Regions from separate parts of the Homo sapiens genome. Here regions 1, 2, 3, 5, 6 and 7 are each linked to region 4. Evidence: promoter capture Hi-C in 16 types of primary human blood cells and fetal thymus (Javierre and others, 2016). All regions are on one chromosome and are shown on one strand. The core of a region is centred on a gene start or on the middle of the fragment in contact, and the rest is flanking DNA. Distances in the headings are between cores, read along the strand shown. Region 1 overlaps COG5 (component of oligomeric golgi complex 5). Region 2 overlaps HBP1 (HMG-box transcription factor 1). Region 3 holds the start of LOC105375445 (a long non-coding RNA gene). Region 4 holds the start of COG5 (component of oligomeric golgi complex 5). Region 5 overlaps HBP1 (HMG-box transcription factor 1). Region 6 overlaps LAMB1 (laminin subunit beta 1). Region 7 overlaps LOC105375444 (a long non-coding RNA gene).

Evidence for each region. The method cuts DNA at HindIII sites, captures the fragments that hold promoters and counts their contacts. A CHiCAGO score of 5 or more calls a contact.
Region 1: a fragment that was not itself captured here is called in contact with the fragment with the promoter of COG5 in region 4 in 1 of 17 cell types (M1 macrophages); the score reaches 5.2 in M1 macrophages.
Region 2: a contact is called between a fragment that was not itself captured here and the fragment with the promoter of COG5 in region 4, in 1 of 17 cell types (fetal thymus). The highest score is 5.3, in fetal thymus.
Region 3: a fragment that was not itself captured here is called in contact with the fragment with the promoter of COG5 in region 4 in 10 of 17 cell types (non-activated CD4 T cells, erythroblasts, naive CD8 T cells and 7 more); the score reaches 12.4 in non-activated CD4 T cells.
Region 5: a contact is called between a fragment that was not itself captured here and the fragment with the promoter of COG5 in region 4, in 3 of 17 cell types (megakaryocytes, M2 macrophages and M1 macrophages). The highest score is 8.3, in megakaryocytes.
Region 6: a contact is called between a fragment that was not itself captured here and the fragment with the promoter of COG5 in region 4, in 1 of 17 cell types (total CD4 T cells). The highest score is 5.5, in total CD4 T cells.
Region 7: a fragment that was not itself captured here is called in contact with the fragment with the promoter of COG5 in region 4 in 2 of 17 cell types (non-activated CD4 T cells and total CD8 T cells); the score reaches 6.6 in non-activated CD4 T cells.

The regions. Positions count from the first base shown.
Region 1 is chr7:107,226,345-107,229,052 of GRCh38, forward strand. All of the region lies in intron 19 of COG5 (component of oligomeric golgi complex 5), which reads right to left. It overlaps LOC124901721 (a long non-coding RNA gene), which reads left to right. Exons shown (of 3, transcript XR_007060472.1): 2 at 1-101. Among named protein-coding and RNA genes, the nearest start is that of HBP1, 59 kb to the left of the region's middle. The HindIII fragment of the contact is 2,347 bases long and covers 207-2,553 here.
Region 2 is chr7:107,179,237-107,181,936 of GRCh38, forward strand. It overlaps HBP1 (HMG-box transcription factor 1), which reads left to right. Exons shown (of 11, transcript NM_012257.4): 2 at 643-826. The coding sequence starts at 658. Among named protein-coding and RNA genes, the nearest start is that of HBP1, 12 kb to the left of the region's middle. The HindIII fragment of the contact is 5,152 bases long and covers 1-2,700 here.
Region 3 is chr7:107,873,083-107,875,859 of GRCh38, forward strand. LOC105375445 (a long non-coding RNA gene) reads right to left here and starts at 1,153. Exons shown (of 3, transcript XR_927851.2): 1 at 1,039-1,153. The HindIII fragment of the contact is 5,783 bases long and covers 1-2,777 here.
Region 4 is chr7:107,562,636-107,565,335 of GRCh38, forward strand. COG5 (component of oligomeric golgi complex 5) reads right to left here and starts at 1,285. Exons shown (of 22, transcript NM_006348.5): 1 at 1,168-1,285. The coding sequence starts at 1,261. It overlaps DUS4L-BCAP29 (DUS4L-BCAP29 readthrough), which reads left to right and starts at 1,336. Exons shown (of 13, transcript NR_163941.2): 1 at 1,336-1,574; 2 at 1,953-2,041. DUS4L (dihydrouridine synthase 4 like) reads left to right here and starts at 1,336. Exons shown (of 8, transcript NM_181581.3): 1 at 1,336-1,574; 2 at 1,953-2,041. RefSeq lists silencers at 1,164-1,374, 1,413-1,512 and enhancers at 1,213-1,332, 1,863-2,700. The HindIII fragment of the contact is 2,647 bases long and covers 1-2,164 here.
Region 5 is chr7:107,198,033-107,200,864 of GRCh38, forward strand. HBP1 (HMG-box transcription factor 1) reads left to right here. Exons shown (of 11, transcript NM_012257.4): 10 at 2,128-2,269. Among named protein-coding and RNA genes, the nearest start is that of HBP1, 30 kb to the left of the region's middle. The HindIII fragment of the contact is 8,021 bases long and covers 1-2,832 here.
Region 6 is chr7:107,927,409-107,930,210 of GRCh38, forward strand. LAMB1 (laminin subunit beta 1) reads right to left here. Exons shown (of 34, transcript NM_002291.3): 30 at 2,004-2,211; 31 at 1,656-1,797. Among named protein-coding and RNA genes, the nearest start is that of DLD, 38 kb to the left of the region's middle. The HindIII fragment of the contact is 2,992 bases long and covers 1-2,802 here.
Region 7 is chr7:107,857,009-107,859,708 of GRCh38, forward strand. It overlaps LOC105375444 (a long non-coding RNA gene), which reads right to left. Exons shown (of 3, transcript XR_927850.3): 3 at 1-108. Among named protein-coding and RNA genes, the nearest start is that of DLD, 33 kb to the right of the region's middle. The HindIII fragment of the contact is 3,556 bases long and covers 1-2,700 here.

The sequences.
Region 1 (2,708 bases), core at 130-2,629, 340 kb before region 4:
ACAGATGGAAGAAGTGCACATATTAATAAGAGTAAGCTTTTCACTGCAACTGCTCAGGACTCATTTTAAAGAAGAGACAGATCTCTAACAAGATTTTGCAGGTAGGTAAAACAGAGGGCCTATAATTAGGTTATTAGAATAAAGATGGCTCTGTACTGATTTACTCCTCTCTAGGAAGGAATTTGGTAGGACCCGCCACATGGGTAAGCTTTCTCAAGTCAATTCTCTTTACATGACAACTGCAAAGAAGCTGGCAGGGCCAGGGCTTTCCCAACAATGGTGCGGGGCAGAGGCCGCAGCACATGCTCACATCTCTCTTCTTCTCATCTGATAGGACTGAAAACATTCTTTGTAGACCAGGGCTGGATTTGAACCCCTTAATATATTATACTTCTGTTTTATTTCTTGATCCAGTTAATCCTAATCCTACGCTTTTTATAAAATAGTTGTATCAGTCCCATCAAACAACTGAGAAAGCACTAGGATTAATTCAGTAGATTTCTGTAGATTCAATATAAATATAGAAATATAATGGTATATAGAAAAATACCTCTGTTGGAATTTTTCAATTAACTCAAGCTATGAAGGATACTCCATAGGCAAGAAACAATTATTCTTATGTGCCTGAGGCCTTGGGAGCTAAGACGTCATCTGCAGGAGGAACCTCAGAGATACCAGAATCCCAAGAGAAAAGGGTATAAATCTTCACAGTTTGTGGAAAGGAAAAAACTTGGCTCCCTGTCACTAGAGCAACTAAAGTTCAAGAGTTAAGGGCCTCGTGAGAAATCTGAGAAATGGCTGGATGCAGGCCATGAGTGGGTCATTAAACTAATTTAGTGGGTTAAAATAATCAAATGAAATAGAAATGTTAGAGGTTATCACATGAAGTAAGGGTACTTACTATTTCATGAACCATACATATGGGTGTCCATGTATATGTATATAGATTTGAGTGTGTTCATGTGTTTGCATACAAGTATATGCCAAATATCAATAGAAAGTATCTTTTACTGTGGGTCATGGTCAAAAGTTTGAAAACTGTTACGCCATAAGAAGCTAGATATAAAAAAAAAAGTAGAACTATTAAAATTATACATTGATCAAGCGATTCTTGATTCTATAAATAGGTATTAGAAGGTGTCACCCAAACTTTAAATGTTCCTTTAGAGATTCTTTCTCTCATGTGAGAATTGGAAAGGGTTGGCAGAAAATTTCCATCTTAAATGGCTTAAAATAGATGTCTTAAGTGAAACTTATCCTCAGACCTTGTATCTCCATACTATGACACAACTTTAAGAGTGCTTACATGAAGGTCATCCTGCCTCAGCAAACAGGAAACTTAGCACTATTTTTTTTTGGGGCGGGGGGTGTGGGTGGTGGGCGGTAAAGGGTCTCAGTCTGTCACCAAGGCTGCAGTGCAGTGGCACAATCTCGACTCACTGTAACCTCCAGCTCCCGGGTTAAAGTGATTCTCCCACCTCAGCCTTCCAAGTAGCTGGGACTACAGATGTGTGCTGCCATGCCTGGCTAATTTTTGTACTTTTTGGTAGAGATGGGGTTTCACCATGTTGGCCAGGCTGAATTAGCATTATTTTATACATGCACGTGCAATAATGCAATAAACAACTAAACATGGGACTGGGGCTATAAAAAATAATAGCCTAGGCCAGGTGTGGTGGCTTACACCTGCCATACTTGTAATCCCAGCAGTCTGGGGGGCTGAGGCGGGCAGATAGCTTGAGCTCAGAAATTCAAGACCAGGCTGGGCAACATGGTGAAACTTTGTTTCTACAAAAAAATATAAAAATTAGCTGGGCATGGTGGCACACACCTGTAGTCCCAGTTACTCAGGAGGCTGAGGCGGGAGGATCACTTGGGCATGCAAGGTGGAGGTTGCAGTAAGCTGAGATGGAGATCGCACCACTGCACTCTAACCTGGGTGACAGAGTGACACCCGGTCTCAAAAAAAAAAAAAAAAAAAGCCAAATCTTCCTATAGCAATGCTAAATCACAGCTTTTCTCATACCTTTTTCAATAACTAGATGGTTAATATCCTCCAGTATGTTAACTGACTCAGCCAGCCAGGGCAACATTTTATTACCCAGCTAGGATTGCTGTGTTACCATCTTACTCAAGAGTAAATGACTGTACAGGGGTTTTAGTAAAGTAACTTTTATGGTACAAACAGATGACCAATGGATTGGCAACCTCAGGACCTCATCATCCTTCAACTCGCCCATGTTTGGTAGTGCAGAACTCTATAGCTTCAACAAAATACTTAAACAGTTTTAAAAAGATTTGAGCTGATACAAAGAAGGTATCTGAAAGCATTTGTGATCTCACTTTAAGTTTTCCTAAAACTCATCTCTGTACAGATGGGCAGTGATCTTTCATTTGAGAAAAAATAAAATCCAGACTCTTGTGTTGCCATTAAAAAAAAAAAAAGGCCTGTGCTAATTACAAACAGGCGAGGTAAAATATACGGATTCCCTCTCAATCAACAATATTGGATTCTTATATTTCTTATATTCCACCAGAAGTTTCTACTACCAAAGCTTGATGACAGAAGAGAGCAAAGCGATCATTTAAAGGACATACTGCTTATTGATCCTCTAGTTTCCAGTACTGAGTTGGTTTTTAGAAAGCTGCATACCTGTACTCTGTTATCTTATCCTTATTGAGAAATCTTCAACCATTATGCACTTGGA
Region 2 (2,700 bases), core at 95-2,594, 380 kb before region 4:
AAGAGTCCTATTAGTCTCAGTTTTTGCATCTGAAAGGACGGTTACTAGGTTAAATAAAAGTATATACAATGCCATTTTTCCTCAGCAGAAAAGACTTTTTTTTATAATTCAAGATATTAATCTTTTGGGATTGAAATGTGATTTAGTGCTGAGTATTCAGTTGTAGGCCAAGATGTTAAGGAGTCATCCGGGTCTAAAGGATTTGAGGGAGCTATAAATGGCAGTGTATGATTAAGTTAAAATCTAACACTGTGGCCGGGCGTGGTGGCTCACGCCTGTAATCCCAGCACTCTGGGAGGCCCAGGTGGGCGGATATCTTGAGGTCAGGAGTTCAAGACCAGCCTGGCCAACATGACGAAACCCCATCTCTACTAAAAATACAAAAATTAGCTCGGCGTGGTGGCATGTGCCTGTAATCCCCCCTACTTAGGTGGCTGAGGCGGGAGAATCGCTTGAACCCAGGAGGTGGAGTTTGCAGTGAGCCGAGATCACGCCACTGCACTGCAGTCTGGGTGACAGAGTGTGACTATGTCTCAAAAAAAAAACAAAACAACATTGTCATGTCTCTGATTTATTTTAGGTTTGTGTACTGCCCAAATTGCATGGCTTGACATCATTTCTTAATGTCGTTTTTATTTTAAGTCAGAGCACCATAACATGGTGTGGGAAGTGAAGACAAATCAGATGCCTAATGCAGTACAGAAACTCCTGTTGGTGATGGACAAGAGAGCCTCAGGAATGAATGACTCATTGGAGTTGCTGCAGTGTAATGAGAATTTGCCATCTTCACCTGGATATAACTCCTGTGATGAACACATGGAGCTTGGTAAGCAAAATTAAAAGTTATATAGAAATCTCACTAAGATTCAGATAAATTTTTCTACTTAGCCCGCTTCTCCACCAACCTTGACTGGCTAGAAAGGGATATGAAGTATTTGTATATTAGGAATTTTCAGCATTCTTTTATTGCTTTTAAAATACTACTTAAAACCAACATGAGTTGGGCTATTTATGGTTATTGTAGACACTCATTTACAGATTGTTAAATTAAACTACTTTACTTTGTGTGTAAAGATTGGACCCCACTCGTGGCTTTTCGAAAGATGCTACTTTTGAAATATACTTGAGAGAGCTCAGTAAAATATGCTTAGCCACTCTTCGTGGCAGATTTGCTGGTATGATGTGGAAATTACAGTGGACCCTTGAAACTTGAGGATCTGACATTTATGGTTGTTACTATTGCTAAACTACTCCTGGAGATATGTGACCTTTAGAAATGTGTAAGTTTGTTGAGGTGTGTTTTTGAATTGTATTGCTTCAAGGCTGGTGTTCAGGAGTATGGAGCTAATGAGTCACCTTGGCTTGCTGCCCAGCTTTTCAGCTTGGCTTTGCCCCCATTTAATATATGGGGGTTTCCTTCATGTTTATAAAAACCCTGGGGAGAAGATACAGCTGTCTTAATTTTACAAATGATGAAATGGAGGAGATTATGTACTATGGTAATGTTTGGAAATTTAGAGATCTTAAGCTCTTGGGACACATAACCTGCTTGAATGCCAAGGATTTTCTGGACCCTAGTATTTATTGAGTACTGGTTACTTTTGAGCAAGGAGTGCCATTTTAATCAGGTAGTTGATCTTCCTCAGTTTTTGGTTTAAGGAGGAACTCAGAAACTTAGGGCCGAGGGGAGTATAAATAACATGCCCCTTCCACCTATGACTTCGTTTAAAAAGTAATTTCCTGAACTTCAGAAACAGAAATGAACCCTTTGCAGTAAATAAATGTTGGTCAAAGGCAGTGAGGGAAAGGAAATAGCTATATCAGCATGAAAATTGTAGGGTAGAATTATTTTAAATTAGTGTGATGTTCTAGAACTCCTTGGCTCCTTCATGACTCCATGAAAGAAGTCAGTTTTTACAAATGGATATCCCGAGTCAGTGCTTCTAATTAAAACATTTCAGTTTGGCTTGGCATGATGGTTCACGCTAGTAATCGCAGCACTTTGGGAGGACAAGGTGGGAGGAGTTCAGGACCAGCCTGGTCAACGTAGTGAGATATCATCTCTACAAAAATTTTCTTTAAAAATTAGCTGGGCATGGTGGGTACATGCCTGTAGTCCTAGCTACTTGAGAGGCAGAGGCGTGAGGATCATTTGAGCCCAGGGGTCCAAGGCTGCAGTGAGCTATAATTGTACCACTGCACTCCAGCCTGGGCAACAGAGTAAGACCCTATCTCAAAAAAAAATTTTTTTTTTTTTAAGATAGGACATTTCGGTTTTAGTAGACTATTCTGGAATATTTGCCTGAATAGGAGTTATACATACTTTTATAGTGACATTTAGGAGACTAGAAATTTTCTTGACTTGTATATTTAAGGGACCCAATAGGTTTGTGGAGTTTGTAGGTATGTGTTTCGTGGAGAGTTTTTTTTTTTAAGCCTTCAAGATGCTTTTTCTTCCCTACTACATACACACATACATACAGACATATATATGATTTTTTAAAAGAATATATATATAATTTTTTTTAAGAATTCAGTATTTTGGAATTCATGTTCCTTATAGTGCTTGGTGTGTGCATGAGTGGTAGCTGGGTAATAGTTCCAGTCATCTTATGGGGAGCTGAAAGGGTATCATGAATTGCCTTTTAGGAATGCACTTATAGGAAAAAATAACCGATAAATAACCAGTAAATATTAACA
Region 3 (2,777 bases), core at 236-2,735, 310 kb after region 4:
CCTGGGCTCAAGTCATCCTCCTGCCTTGGCCTCCAAGAGTGCTGGGATTACAGGCATGAGCCACTGTGCCCAGCCATCTTTATCTTTCTCTTTTTTATCCCCTACATCTAGTAAACCACTAGCCTTTTAACTGTGCATTCTTTACTGCCTCTTCAATTTCTTTTCTTCCCTCCACCTCTATGAACGTAGTTCAGGAATGTATCACTTGTTGCTTGGGTTACTTCAAGAAGTCTCTTTTCTAAGATAAGGAAAGCCTAGACTTTAATGCTACACTTTTGAGAGGGTGATGAGAAGACATTCCTTGTTTCTTTTTTACCCCAAACCAGGGAAAACTAGGCAATGAGGATATTACAGATCTCCCCAAACCAACAAACAGAAAATCTGCTTCCTTTGAACCAATACTCCTTTGAGCAGACCCTGACTTAGCTATCTCTTTTTTTTTTTTGGAGACAGAGTCTCACTCTGTCGCCCAGGCTGGAGTGCAATGGTGAAATCTCAGCTCACCGCAAGCTCCGCCTCCTGGGTTCAAGGGATTCTCCTGCCTCAGCCTCCTGAGTAGCTGGGACTACAGGCACGCACTACCACACCTGGCTAATTTTTGTATTTTTAGTAGAGATGGGGATTCACCATGTTGGTCAGGCTGGTCTTCAACTCCTGACCTTGTGATCCGCCCACCTGGGCCTCCCAAAGTGCTGGGATTACAGGCGTGAGCCACCATGCCCGGCCTATCTTTCCTTTTACCACCAAACATCATGTTTACATTTTCTGCCTATATTTCCTTATCACTCTGCTTTCAATCCCTTAAATTATGGCTTCTTTTTAACTGAAATTGGTTCACAAAGTTCATTCACTAATGCCAATGTACTGATTTAGGCATTTTTCTGTTACAGGCAATAGAAATTCTAACCAAAATTAGATTAAGCAAAAAGGAGAAGGTATCAGCTCATATAACTGGGGAGTCCAGAAACAGAAATAAGGACAGGCACAACATCATCCAGGACTCCGTATCACTGTGATGCCATTTCTCTCCTTGATTACCTCTAATTCCTTAGAGTTTGCTCCATCATAGGACCACGCATGGAGGCAAGGCAGTTGCAATGGCTTCAGTTTCTATATCCACTCAGATGGACATCTCAAAGGAACAAGGGTGTGTTTCATTCTTTCTCATTCTGTCCTAAGTCCCTAAACCGATTCCTGTGGCCATGGGAATGTGTTGCTCTGATTGGCCAGGCTTGAGTCACATCTCTACAGGGCAGACATGTCCAATAGAAATATAAGGGGAGCCATAAATGTGAGGCACAGATATAAGCCACATATGTAATCTTACATTTTCTGGTAGCCACACTTTAAAAAGTGAAAAAAAAGGTGAAATTAAATATAATGATACATTCTATTTAACCTAGTATATCCAAAATGTTATTCTTTCAGCATGTAATCAACATAAATGATGATTAAAATGTTTTATATCATTTCTTGTACCAAGTCATCAAAACTCATCATTTTAACAAGGCTTCCAACTGATGATGTGTTGGGGGGTGGAGGGCCTGTGAGACATACTTTGAGAAACACTAACCTACACTTTCATTTTTTCTGTGTTCCCAAAATTACCTTTAGAGTGCTCAGAGTACTGAGACATCTGCTGAAATATGCTGGAGCAATCCAGAGTGAAGCAGGGTTGTTACTGGATAGAGCAAGATAGGATCAGAGACGTTTAATATTGCTGCCATGTTGCCGCCATCTATTGGTTGTGTCACATATTACAGGTTCATAACCGAAAAAATGAAGCTGGTCATTTGTGGGCCCCTTTATACTTCTGGCAAGACACCTCCTCAACTGCATCCTGAAATGACTTTTCTTTAGAATTCTTATTTATTACAGAATACAGAAAAATCTTAATAGTTGTGCATTATGGATTATCAGGCCTACGTCTAACAGAATGTTGTTGTTGTTGTCAGCTACAGAACAGATAGATTTCCTTTAAATATAACCCTATTATCCTGTCAGCAATCCACTGTAAGTGACCTTGGTTTCTGTTTCTGCAGATTTTCTTCACCTTCTGAAGGCATTGACCAGAGAAAATTTCTTAACATCTCTGAGCCTTAGTTCCTTCAGCTATAAAATATAGGATAATAATGCTACCTTCTTCATAGCGTTATTGTGAAGATTAAATTGCATAGTGTTTATAAATTATTTGGCACAGTGCCTGATGTATATAAAGAACGCTGTCAATGTTATTGTTAAGAAGAATAACAAGTCTTAATGGAAATTTGAACAGTGACTGGAAATTTGATAACATTATGGAATTAAATTTTATTTTGTTTTTTTTAAATCCTTATATTAAAAAAATCCTTATCCTTTACAGATACACACTGAACTAGTTATAGGTGAAATTATATGACTACTGGGATTTGTCTCAAAATAAAATGGAAGGGAAGTGAGCAGTAAAGCAATATTGGCTATAATCTGATCATGGTTTAAACTCAGTGAAGGATTTATGAAGGTTTATTATGCTACTTTGTTTTGTGTATGTTTGAAATTTTCCATAAAATTTAAGCAAACAAACAAAATTGCCAGGCGCAATGGCTCACGCCTGTAATCCCAGTACTTTGGGAGGCCGAGGAGGGCGGATCACCTGAGGTCAGGAGTTCAAGACCAGCCTGGCCATCATAGTGAAATCCCGTCTCTACCAAAAATACAAAAATTAGCCGGGTGCTGTGGTGCGTGCCTGCCTGTAGTCCCAGCTACTTGGGAGGCTGAGGCAGGAAATTGCTTAAACC
Region 4 (2,700 bases), core at 35-2,534:
ATTCAGTTTAGCCAAGTTTTAGACAGAGACCCGGTCCTAGAGTTTCCAACATGAAATAGTTCAGAAAACATCATTGCTTTTGACAAAAGTACATAAATTATCATGAAAAGGCACGTAATTCAGGATGACAATAAAATATTTAACAGTCAGAGAAAATAAACAATAATTTGGAACTTTATTTCATTTATTACCCACTTCGGTCTTCAAATGTGTGCATGTGCTTCTAACTGCGATGATGAATTTAAAAAACATTCTGCACCTACTGTATGCAAGATACTGCTATTCACACTGTGGGATATTAAAAAAAGTTTGCAATACAGAAGAGATTAAAACAAGTATACAAATGATTTTAGTACAAGGTAGAATGCGATGGCCACTAGAGAAAAAATTAAGAACAGGTGAGAAGGGCTTTATTTTTATGCTTATAAATGTGAACTTTATTCTGAAGGATAAGAGATTCGGGACATGGTAACTGGATTGACACAACTGAATATGCTTTTCAAGTATATTATATCTAACTTTTCTTATTTTGGGCAACTTCTCTCCAAACTGACTAGCAATAAAATCTGACTGCTAGATTCTGTACAAATGGTTAATCCCAACCTGAACAAATGTCTCAAACCCTCCCCCACGTGTCACTGTAGATAACTGCCTCATAAAGGAGGAAAAAAAAAACCAGCCTGTAAGAGGGGTCACCTGTACAGTCCATTTGTTAAAGGAGTAAGCGTTTCCAGCTCTACTTTAAAACAAGGCCCTATTTCATTATGCGTCTGCCGTCTGTTCTAGAGCTTACACTTTTGAAGAGCTCGAACGCTACACCCCTTCGTCAAGAACTGCGGCAGCAGCCGGTGGCTGCCAACGCGGTCCACAGGGTTTGGGCTCCCGAAACTTCAGGGAAGCTGGAGGCATGGGGGGGGGGGGGGTCGAGTTGAAATGAGGAACACACAGAAACCAAGTGTCCCCAAGACTCCAGAAAAGAGGGAGCCAGTCCCAGAGTAAATAGGTTGGCTAGAACAGTACCCAAGCCAGGGGGCCGGGCGGAGGGGAGTGGTCACGTCCAGACTGGAAAACTTTCTGCAAAGCAACGGGTTGGGTCCACCTCGCTGTCCAGGTGCGGAGCAGCGCAGACCCCCAACCCCACGACCTGGTCAGACCCCGTCTCCTTACCGTCCTGCAGAAGTTCCCGGACTGTAGCTGCAGCCGCTCCAGAGCCTCGAGCTCCGAGGCCAGCTACAGCGACGCTGCCGCCGCCACCTTCCATGTTGGCAGGTGCCGGGTTGATGTCGTCAGCAGCAGAACGGCTCCGCCCAGGTGGTGACGCAGAATCCCGGCGCCGCCCGCCCACCCAGCCCATGGCTCCAGGCCCACCTGGCGAACTGACTCTCAGCCCGCGCCTGGGCTAAGCCTGGCTAGGAGCCGCGCAGGTACTCGAGCAGTGGGCGCCCAGGGTCCGAGTGCTCTGCGCCCAGCGCACCGAGGGAGCCAAGGCCGTCGGGCCGGCGCTTTCAGCTGTCTCTCGCAGCAGCTCAGGGCCGCGCCCCCTGGGCTGGCGTCGTGCCCTAGCCAAGGAGAAGGTGGGCACCGGAACGTGGCCGCAGCGCTTATCTGTGAAGCAAGTATTAAACCTCAGAACAGGGGCCGCGCGGCGTAAGGCAGGAGAGCAGAGCGGAGGTTTCAGGGAGCTTCGTTTGCCCTCCACACTCACAAGAGTCACGCGTTAGTTGCTACACAGCTTTATCTGTTCCACGCCTTGATTGGCACTCCTGGGGTAATAAAAGCCCGCAGGAAATGCTTGGGAAGAAAAGTTGCTGGGGATGAACAGTGAAGAGAATTAGGGAGAGTCGATGAAGAAGGAAGTCTGAACCATAAAAGGACCAATAAAACTCACTGTCTCTACCCTCCTTCCTTCCCATGAGACCTTTGACCTTTTGCCTTTTCTACTTCTTCCTCAGTTTCAGTCACGTGCCAGACTTTTTCTTAATTACAAACTGATAGATGGTCCACATCTCAACTAACAGTATTGACGCTGTAAGAGCATCAGGTTGGTTCCCATTGTATCTTCTTTACTAATACGTTCGCGTTTTTGACCTAGATTTCTTTCTTCTAAGATAAATACTGATAAATTAACAGGGTCAGGCAACCACAAGTATGCAAGACAGTCTTAAGCTTCTTCGCAAAAAGAAGCTGGAAGATGACTTTTTCATTTTGTACAGTAGGTATGTATCCAGGAAACCAATTTTATCCAGTTCCAGAGCTACGTGGTTTTCTACATTCTGTTTCAAAAAGGTGCTATTACTTATCCTGTGCTTATCGCTGTTCTAAGTATTTTATAACTCAATGCATTTCATACTCATAACACCTCAGGTAAGCAAGTCTTATGCTACACTGCATTATGCTCTCTTTGTCTCAGAGGATTTTCCCTAGTATGTAAGATCTTAGTCATGATGGGAATAGGGGTGATTCATTCATTACTTGTGAATTAGGAATTGTTTTTCCTTCCTTGGCTTTATTCCCCCCAGTGGAAGATTTTAGAAGAGTGAGTAATATTCATTCATACAGCGAAAGTTTTGACCCCTCTACTCTGCATGCTCTCATGAGTTTACAAACATAAGACTCAATCCATATTCTAAAAGGAGTTAATAGGTAAGGTAGGAACCCATTTAAACAAACAATTGTACCAGGTGCTTTGGAATCTTTGGA
Region 5 (2,832 bases), core at 322-2,821, 360 kb before region 4:
CTTCCCCGCCAGTAGTTGAGAATGTCAGCTGGGATGCATTCTGTATTTATTTCCAATTCTGGGGAACTGGACTATCCTGATTATAAGGGGTGTAAATCTCATTTTATCTTTAGATGTTTTGTTTTCTGATCTTTTTATAGGATCTCTAAATCAGGTTATACCCTTTATTGCTCAAAAATCTTTTTTTTTTTTATGAGATGGAATCTTGCTCTGTCACGCAGGCTGTAGTGCCAGTGGTGTGATCTCGGCTCATTGCAACTGCTGCCTCCTAGGTTGAAGTGATTCTCCTGCCTCAGCCTCTGAGCAGCTTGAACTATAGGCATGCACCACCACACCTGGCTAATTTTTTGTAGTTTTAGTAGAGATGGGGTTTCACCTTGTTGGCTAGGCTGGTCTCGAACTCCTGATCTCAGGTGATCTGCCCACCTCTGCCTCCCAAAGTGCTGGGATTACATATGTGAGCCACCGTGCCCAGCCAAATCTGGTATTTTCTTTGCATTTTAGCATTGCTCCCATGTGATATACTGGTAATCAATCATCTAACATTGAGGGCCATCAGATATCACCTATCTCTAAACTGAATGGGATAAATCATAATTTTGAAATTGGATTCTTCACTGTCTCTAATAAAGCTGCCTTAATTCAATGAATAAATTCTCATTTGGAGGCAAATTCTGAGGGAATGGAGACTAGAACAGGTCAGAGACATGTAGCTCATTTTAAGTTGCTATAAATGTCCATCTGGATGTAACATTCACTGCAGAAATAATCTTTAGATGTGTATATTTTACATTTGTTAGGGAACACAGAGTATAGTCTACAGCATTGTGTACATTTCATTACCTGTCATCTTTTAGCTTAAAATAATAAATGTTTCGCAAGTGCCACCCCCTTCAAAAACATCTCATGTTCTTTCCTACTGTGGATGACTGAGATGGTGTGAATATTTATTGATTTGTTTAAATGTGTCAACCATTATATGGTACCTGTAACCCAAGACTAAAAGTTTTTTTTTTAATGGGTTCTGCAAATGGAATATAAAAATTGGTTATCATTTTATTATTTATTTTTGAGACAGAGTCTCATTCTGTTCCCCAGGCTGGAGTGCAGTGGCGGGATATCGGCTCACTGCAACCTCTGCCTCCCGGGTTCAGGCGATTCTAGTGCCTCAGCCTCCCCAGTAGCTGTGATTACAGGCGTGTGCCATCACACCTGGCAAATAGTAGAGATGGGGTGACGGGGTTTCACCATGTCGGCCAGGCTGGTCTTGAACTCGTGGCCTCAAGTGATCTGCCCGCCTTGGCCTCCAAAAGTGCTGGGATTACAGGCATGAGTCACAACGTCCAGCCCAAAAATTGGTTTATAATTAAGGAAAATGCAGCACAATGTTTAACTGCATTAAGTTATTGGATAAAAAGACAAATACACTTGTAGGAGAGCTTCTGTGGTTTACTGTTCGAAGGCACAAATGCCTGTTGCTTTGGCTTCCATATCAGTCAGTATAAAAATCACTTGATGTGCTTTGTGCAAAATTTCCAGGACCTTATGTTTTATATGGGTGTCATGAAGTGAATGGCTGAAAGCTCTTCATAGAAGGAAGGTGGTTTACATCTGTGTGCCTAGGTGAGACTGTTTTAGTAGGTTTCATAGCAGAGTAACAAACAGGAGAAAACAGCTTCTAATATTTGTCATGATGTAGTCTTATCAGTTTAACTTCTTAGCATTTTGAGTTTATCCAGTTTTCTCAAGTAATAAAAAATACTGTCTAAAGGTTTATTTGGTTTTCTCTTGAGAGAGAAATAGTAAGATATGCATAGTTAATTCTACACTTCCACTATGATTGAATGAGAAAAGACCTTTATCAAAACTATTTGATAGGTTACGGGCACAAATAGATTAGCTTTTAGTACAAGTTGAATACTTCATGCTGCTGATACGGAACAATGGATTATTTGATTCGGGATTTTACTGGAAATGAGCATTATGGCCTTGACCTTTTCCCATCTCTGTGATAGACAAGATTTTCATCTTTTTTAACTTCACATTTTTCTCCTGAAGTAGCAGCACTTGACATGAGATTTATGAAAAATGTGTGCTTTCAGCATTGTGTAAATATTTATTTTACAGAGCCATAAGTGTGATCCTTGGTGACAGGTGGAAGAAAATGAAGAATGAAGAGAGAAGAATGTACACATTAGAAGCAAAGGCTTTGGCTGAAGAACAGAAACGTTTAAATCCTGACTGTTGGAAGAGGAAAAGAACCAATTCAGTATGTTTCAATAAATAGTGTTTAAAATTATCTTGCCTTATCCGTGCAGGTGTACTGGCATGTTGGAGCAGTTGTTACAACCTTTAAGAGGTTGTGTTGATGCTGTCTCTAGCATTTTTATACTTCAAAACCTAATAATGTTATCACATCATCATATAAAGACTGCCTTTCCTCAAGGGTCATTTACTCTCATAGCATGGCAAGTCGAAATCTCAGGCAAACTTCAAAAGAATGTTTGTTCTAAACATTGAGTTGGAAAAATAATTTTGGAATGCAGTGTTTCTAGTTGGGTTGAAAGATAAGCATTATTAATCCATTAATATCACAGTAGAAAATTTCTCTAATAATTTTGGGATTGTCTCAACAGCTTTTTTTCCTTAATTGGTGAGGGACCAATAAGGCTGGAGGTGTTGGGGTATGTTAGCTGTCATTCATGGGGACTTGTGCCATTGGCACAGAATTTCTAGATTGAAAAATTTCAAGGAGGAGAAGAAATAGGCCCAGGAATGGTGGCAAACAAGTCTATATGATAAGCTATCTTGGATAGACTTGTTTCTTATAAC
Region 6 (2,802 bases), core at 111-2,610, 360 kb after region 4:
TATAATTCAGTATTTTCTAATTTGCTTTTCAGAACAATTTTTTTCAAGAAACAGGGTCTTGCTATATTTCCCAGGCTGGAGTGCAGTGACTGTTTGTTTACAGGCATGATCATAGTGCACTATAGTCTCAAACTCTTGGCCTTAAGTGATCCTCTCACCTCCACCTCCCAAGTGGCTGGGACTACAGGCACACACTGCTGCACCTGGCTTTCAAAACAATAATTTCTACAGTCACTGACATAATATTCACTAAAATATTAACAGCAAACTGAGAAAATGGAAAAACCTAGAGATCGAAACATCAAAATATTTATAGTCTGGTGGGAAAACATAATTTTTCTAAACTTGAACAAATAGCCTGAAGAAAAAGTCTTATTGATACTCGAAATTTAAGGAGGAAAATGGACAGAATTATTGGCCTTCATTTAACTGACAGCAATAGAATAGGGGAACACAGGTTTTTACCAACTAATGGTAAGAAAAGCATGTTGAAAATTCATCTTCCCAGGTTTTAAACACATGGAGGATTGGCCTGAGAAGGCTGACAATGCTGGGTATGGGAGCATTTAATTTCAAAGTATATTCTGAGAACCTGTATAGGGATTAGATAACTCATCAATTTTCTTCATTTTTTAAAAACTCGTAAAATTGGAACGAAAACATTAACTTTCTGAGAAACAAAAGAATTTAATGGAATTATGTTTGCATTACTTCTTTTAAGAGATAAAGAGGATTTTTAGAGCAAGGTGCTAGATCCCTATGAAAAATTCGTAATGAGTACTTTTAATATCTGGTAGTCACAGTATATTTCTTATAAAAAACATTAAGTTTTCCATGCATTCTAAACAGAACAGATTGTTTAGCTATAAGTGCTCTATTAGGTTTCTCTAGAATTGGGTATTGAAAGCAGACTGACTGTTCTCCCATAGTTTCCAAAACTACTATATAGTAAAATGTTTGATGACCAAAATCTTGAGACATTGGCCTTCTTAACCAGATAAGCTGCTTTATAACATCAGGACAGTTTTCTAAAATTATTATACTTCATACTACTGAACAGAGTATATGCTGTTTCCTCAATGAATAGGAGTGCTTTTTTTTTTTTTGAGATGGAGTCTCTGTTGCCCAGACTGGAGTACAGTGGTGTGATCTCAGCTCATTGCAACCTCGACCTCCCCGGTTCAAGCAATTCTCCTGCCTTAGCCTCCCAGGTAGCTGGGACTACAGGCACACACCACTATGCCCAGCTAACTTTTGTATCTTTAGTAGAGAAGGGGTTTTGCCATGTTGGCCACGCTGGTCTTGAACTACTGACCTCAAATGACCCACCCACCTCGGCCTCCCAAAATGCTGGAATTACAGGCGTGAGCCACCATGCCCGCCCAAGAATAGAAGTTTTTATCTTTCTCAGACTTTGTGGGGGAGAAAATGAGATGGGACGTAATGGTCCAGTGTCTGAATCAGAGTCCTTTTATTCCTTGAAAACCTATCTCCACTTATTTTTAGCATCCATGCTAACGGAGTAGTTTAGATTTATTAAAGGAATCCTTTAATGTTGAGTTGTAAGAATTTCTGTTCATAGATAACAAATGTACTTTTCTGGTAAGTGTATATGTAGGTGTGTTCCCATTCATGTAATGATTGTGTATGCCTACCGAAGTTAACAGGTTCTGGGTTCCTTGAATGTCTTCATCTGCTTGTTTAATTGCCTTCTCTGCTGCGACCTGGGCCTTTTCTGCTTCTTCCAGAGCTTCCTTTACCATATCTGCAGTGACTTTAACATCTGTTGCACTTTTGCTGAGTAAAAAATAATGAGACAGTATATTGTTGCTGAACATGAAAAAAGTACTCTCAGTGTTCTTTTCTTTAAAGAATAGCCTTCCTGAAATGACCCAGAGAGACTCGCATAGGTCCTTCTTAGAAGTTTCATTGGTTAAAGAGATACTTTTTACTCCATGATAGATACACAAAATAAGCCCCTTAGATGCCATGTCTTTAGATACCTTGCTCTTTTAGCTTCTTCTAACAACATCTCAGCTCTGGCAATGTCAGCAGCACTATGCTGAAGAATAACCTCTACTTGAGAAAGGCTTTCAACTCGTTCACGTATATCTTCTGTCAAGTTCTGTAACTGCTGTGGGGTGCTAGGCATCTCCATTTTCAATACTTCATTAGCAACTGCTTCAATGCTGTCCAAATCAGCACTATCCTCTGTGAAAAGCAAAGATGTCCCCAAAAAGAGGTGAAAAGAATAGATGGTTCATTCATTCAACCACTTACTGGTCATCTACTATGGACTAGCATGGTGGGGTTACACACCAAGAGACACTAACTTCCTGTTTAAGAGTTTATAATCTATCTGGGATTTTGAGGGGAGATGAGACCTACACACACAAAAAAGTAACTGCAGACAATTGAGTACTACTAGAATTTGTTTTAGGCTGGGTAGTGAGGGAAACCTTCGTGGAAGATGAGGAGCTGATCAGATTTTAAGGGATAATAGAATTTGAAAGAAGAAAGGACAATTCCAGATGGGGAGACAGGAACGGCAGAGTATGTTACGGGAAAGTATAGCAGAGTGAATCTGAACATTGTGGAAAACCATAGAGGGCCAGAGCTTAAAGCTGAGACTTAAAGGCAATGAAATCTTTTAATTGAGGTTGGACGAATAGCTCAGAAACTTGTGAATGCAGATATGGAGATTTGATATTTCCTACAAATGATCTAGATTCAGGAAATTATAGAAAGGGAGAAAATTATAGAAGCAGGAGAACCGGAATAATGGGTTGTCAACAAAGCCAA
Region 7 (2,700 bases), core at 175-2,674, 290 kb after region 4:
CATGTTCCTGCCTCCTGCCTGAGTGAACACAGATTGACATGCCCTCTGTGAATGGCTGCAGACCCTTGTTCCAGTTCAGCTCTGTCCAGCACCTGTCATATGTATTACCTGAAAGAAAAACCTGAGATCAGCAGAAGATCCTCAGAGCAGACAAAAATTTTTCTTAAAAACAACAAGACAAGTGAAAAACAGGACAAGGGTGGGGACAGGACAACAGCAGGCTGCACCCAGAGAGTGCACCCAGGTCATCGGCTGTTCTTCATTTCTGACTTCCTGCTGGCTGTCCTGTGAGGTTGAGGTTACGTGGTTAGAGAAAGCCGGTTACTTGTTTCAAAACAAACAAAGTCCTCAAATCCTTTGAACAGCTAAAGGAATAGAGCACTCCTTGAATATGTATTCTTTCATATCCTCTGAACAGATCTTTATTTACAAGGAAGGCTGGTCTTGGCTGGAAAAATGGTAGTCAGATGTAGATCAAAATGATAATCTCAGAACACAGCACCAAGTGTCTTTTGCATGGGCCATGGGACTTAATGTCTTGATAGAACAGAGGATGTCAAGGAGAAAAAACTGAAGGCCACAAGAAAATGTGAATTTTTTAAATAGTTTACTCTGGTTGGAGGTTTGCCATATTCCTGACTCAACTTTATAATGTTTCCCATTTCTAAGCCAAATGGCTCAGAAGTGTGGCTGGGGTGTGACCTTGACCAGGTACAACCATGGCAATGAGTCTCTATTCTTTTTACTTTGGAATCCAACCAACACGTTAAAGCTCTTTGAATGTGGGTATCATATGAGTCAGTGCATGTGTGCTGACTGCCTGCTGTCCTCATAACACAAAGTGGAGTGGGGGCTATGGAGGCTACTGGATTATTTCCGTCAGTGTATACAGCAAAACTAAATTAATCCCCAAGTTTAGGCTTTTTGACCTCGAGTATCAAGACTAGTTTACTTGCATTGTGCAAATTAGTCACCAACCTACTTTGTATTATAGAGAGTTTTAAACTTTTGTGTATTTCTCCAGATTTGCATCAATGAGATTTTTGAAGTCAGCTTTTAAAATAAATACTAAAATGTAACTGCTTTTGGGATTCTTTTTCTTTATCCACCACACCACGAAAGTAGTAAGTTCCAACACTTCTCACCATTTGCAGTGCCACAATCTGGTTCAAGTCACCGTCAGCTCCCCCTTCAACACTGAGGAAGCCTCCAGGCCCATCTCCTGCCTCCAGTCTTATCCCACTCTCCTCCCTGTCAAGCACAGTCCATACAACACGCAGCAGGCAGAGGTATCTTTACCAGGTGTAAATCAGGTTACATAACTCTCTGGTTTAAAACTCTCCAAGGCTTCCTCTTACAACTAGAGAAAAACTTACCCTCCAGTCTTGGCCTACCAAACCCGCCTGATTGGGCTCCTTCATGGCTCTCCCAAGTGACCCACAACTTGCTTCCTGGTCCTCAGCACTCCAGTCCCTTCAGCTTTCTATCTCTTGAACGAATGCACCAAGCTCAGCCCTGCTCTGGGCCTTTGCACTTGTTCCTCCTTCTGCTGCGTGCCTCTTGCCTAGATCTTTGCACGGCTGTCCCCCTCTCATTATCTGGGTCTCAATTCACATCCACTCAACAAACCACTCTAGATAAATCAGCACTCTCTGCCCACTTCTTTTTTTTGTTGAGATGGAGTCTTGCTTGTCACCCAGGCTGGAATGCGGTGGTGCAATCTCGGCTCACTGCAACCTCTGCCTCCCGGGTTCAAGTGATTCTCCTGCCTCAGGCTCTGGAGTAGCTGGGACTACAGGCGCCCGCCACCACGCCCAGCTAATTTTTTGTGTTTTCAGTAGAGACGGGGTTTCACCGTGTTGGCCAGGATGGTCCGGATCTCCTGACCTCGTGATCTGCCCACCTCGGCCTCCCAAAGTGCTGGGATTACAGGCGTGACCCACTGCACCCGGCCTCTCTGCCCATTTCTACCACTCTCTCATTATCCTATTAGAGCCACGTCTGGCACTTAGCAGGACTTAAAACTAAATTATTTTAAAGCCCTGTTTATGTGTTTTTTGCTTGTTTTCCCCCAACCCACAAACCAGCCCAATATGAGAACATGAGCTCATTGAAGGCAGGAACTCAGATCCTTGCGGTCCCTGCTGTTCCCACTCCTGTCCCCCCATACCTGGAGCAGTACCCAGCCTAATACATATTTATTGACTATCTGATAACTTAACAAATTTAACATTCAGTAAAATTTACCCGATAAATGAACGAATGATTAGGGAACCACATGCATGACTCTCAACTACATAGTGTAAAGTTCCACCTACATGGCATTCTGGAAAAGACAAAACCATAGGGATAAAAAATAGATCAGTAGTTACCAGAAACTGGGTTTGGGATGTTAAGGGCTGACTATAAAGGGACATAAGGGAACTTTTTTGGATGATGGAACCCTTCTATATTTTGTTTCTGATGGCAGTTTCGTGTTAAAAATCATAGAATTGGTTGGCTAAACAGGATAAATTGTGTGTACGCAAGTTATACCTCAACAAACTGGATTTTATTTAATTGCCTGACAGATCTTTCACTTACCCTGGAATAAGCACCGAATGGTTTGTAGAAACGCTCTCATATTGGCCCTTTGTGAACAATCTCCATGTACACATATTCTGAGTGCAGAAACCCCGGGAGCAGCATGGTGGAGTAGAA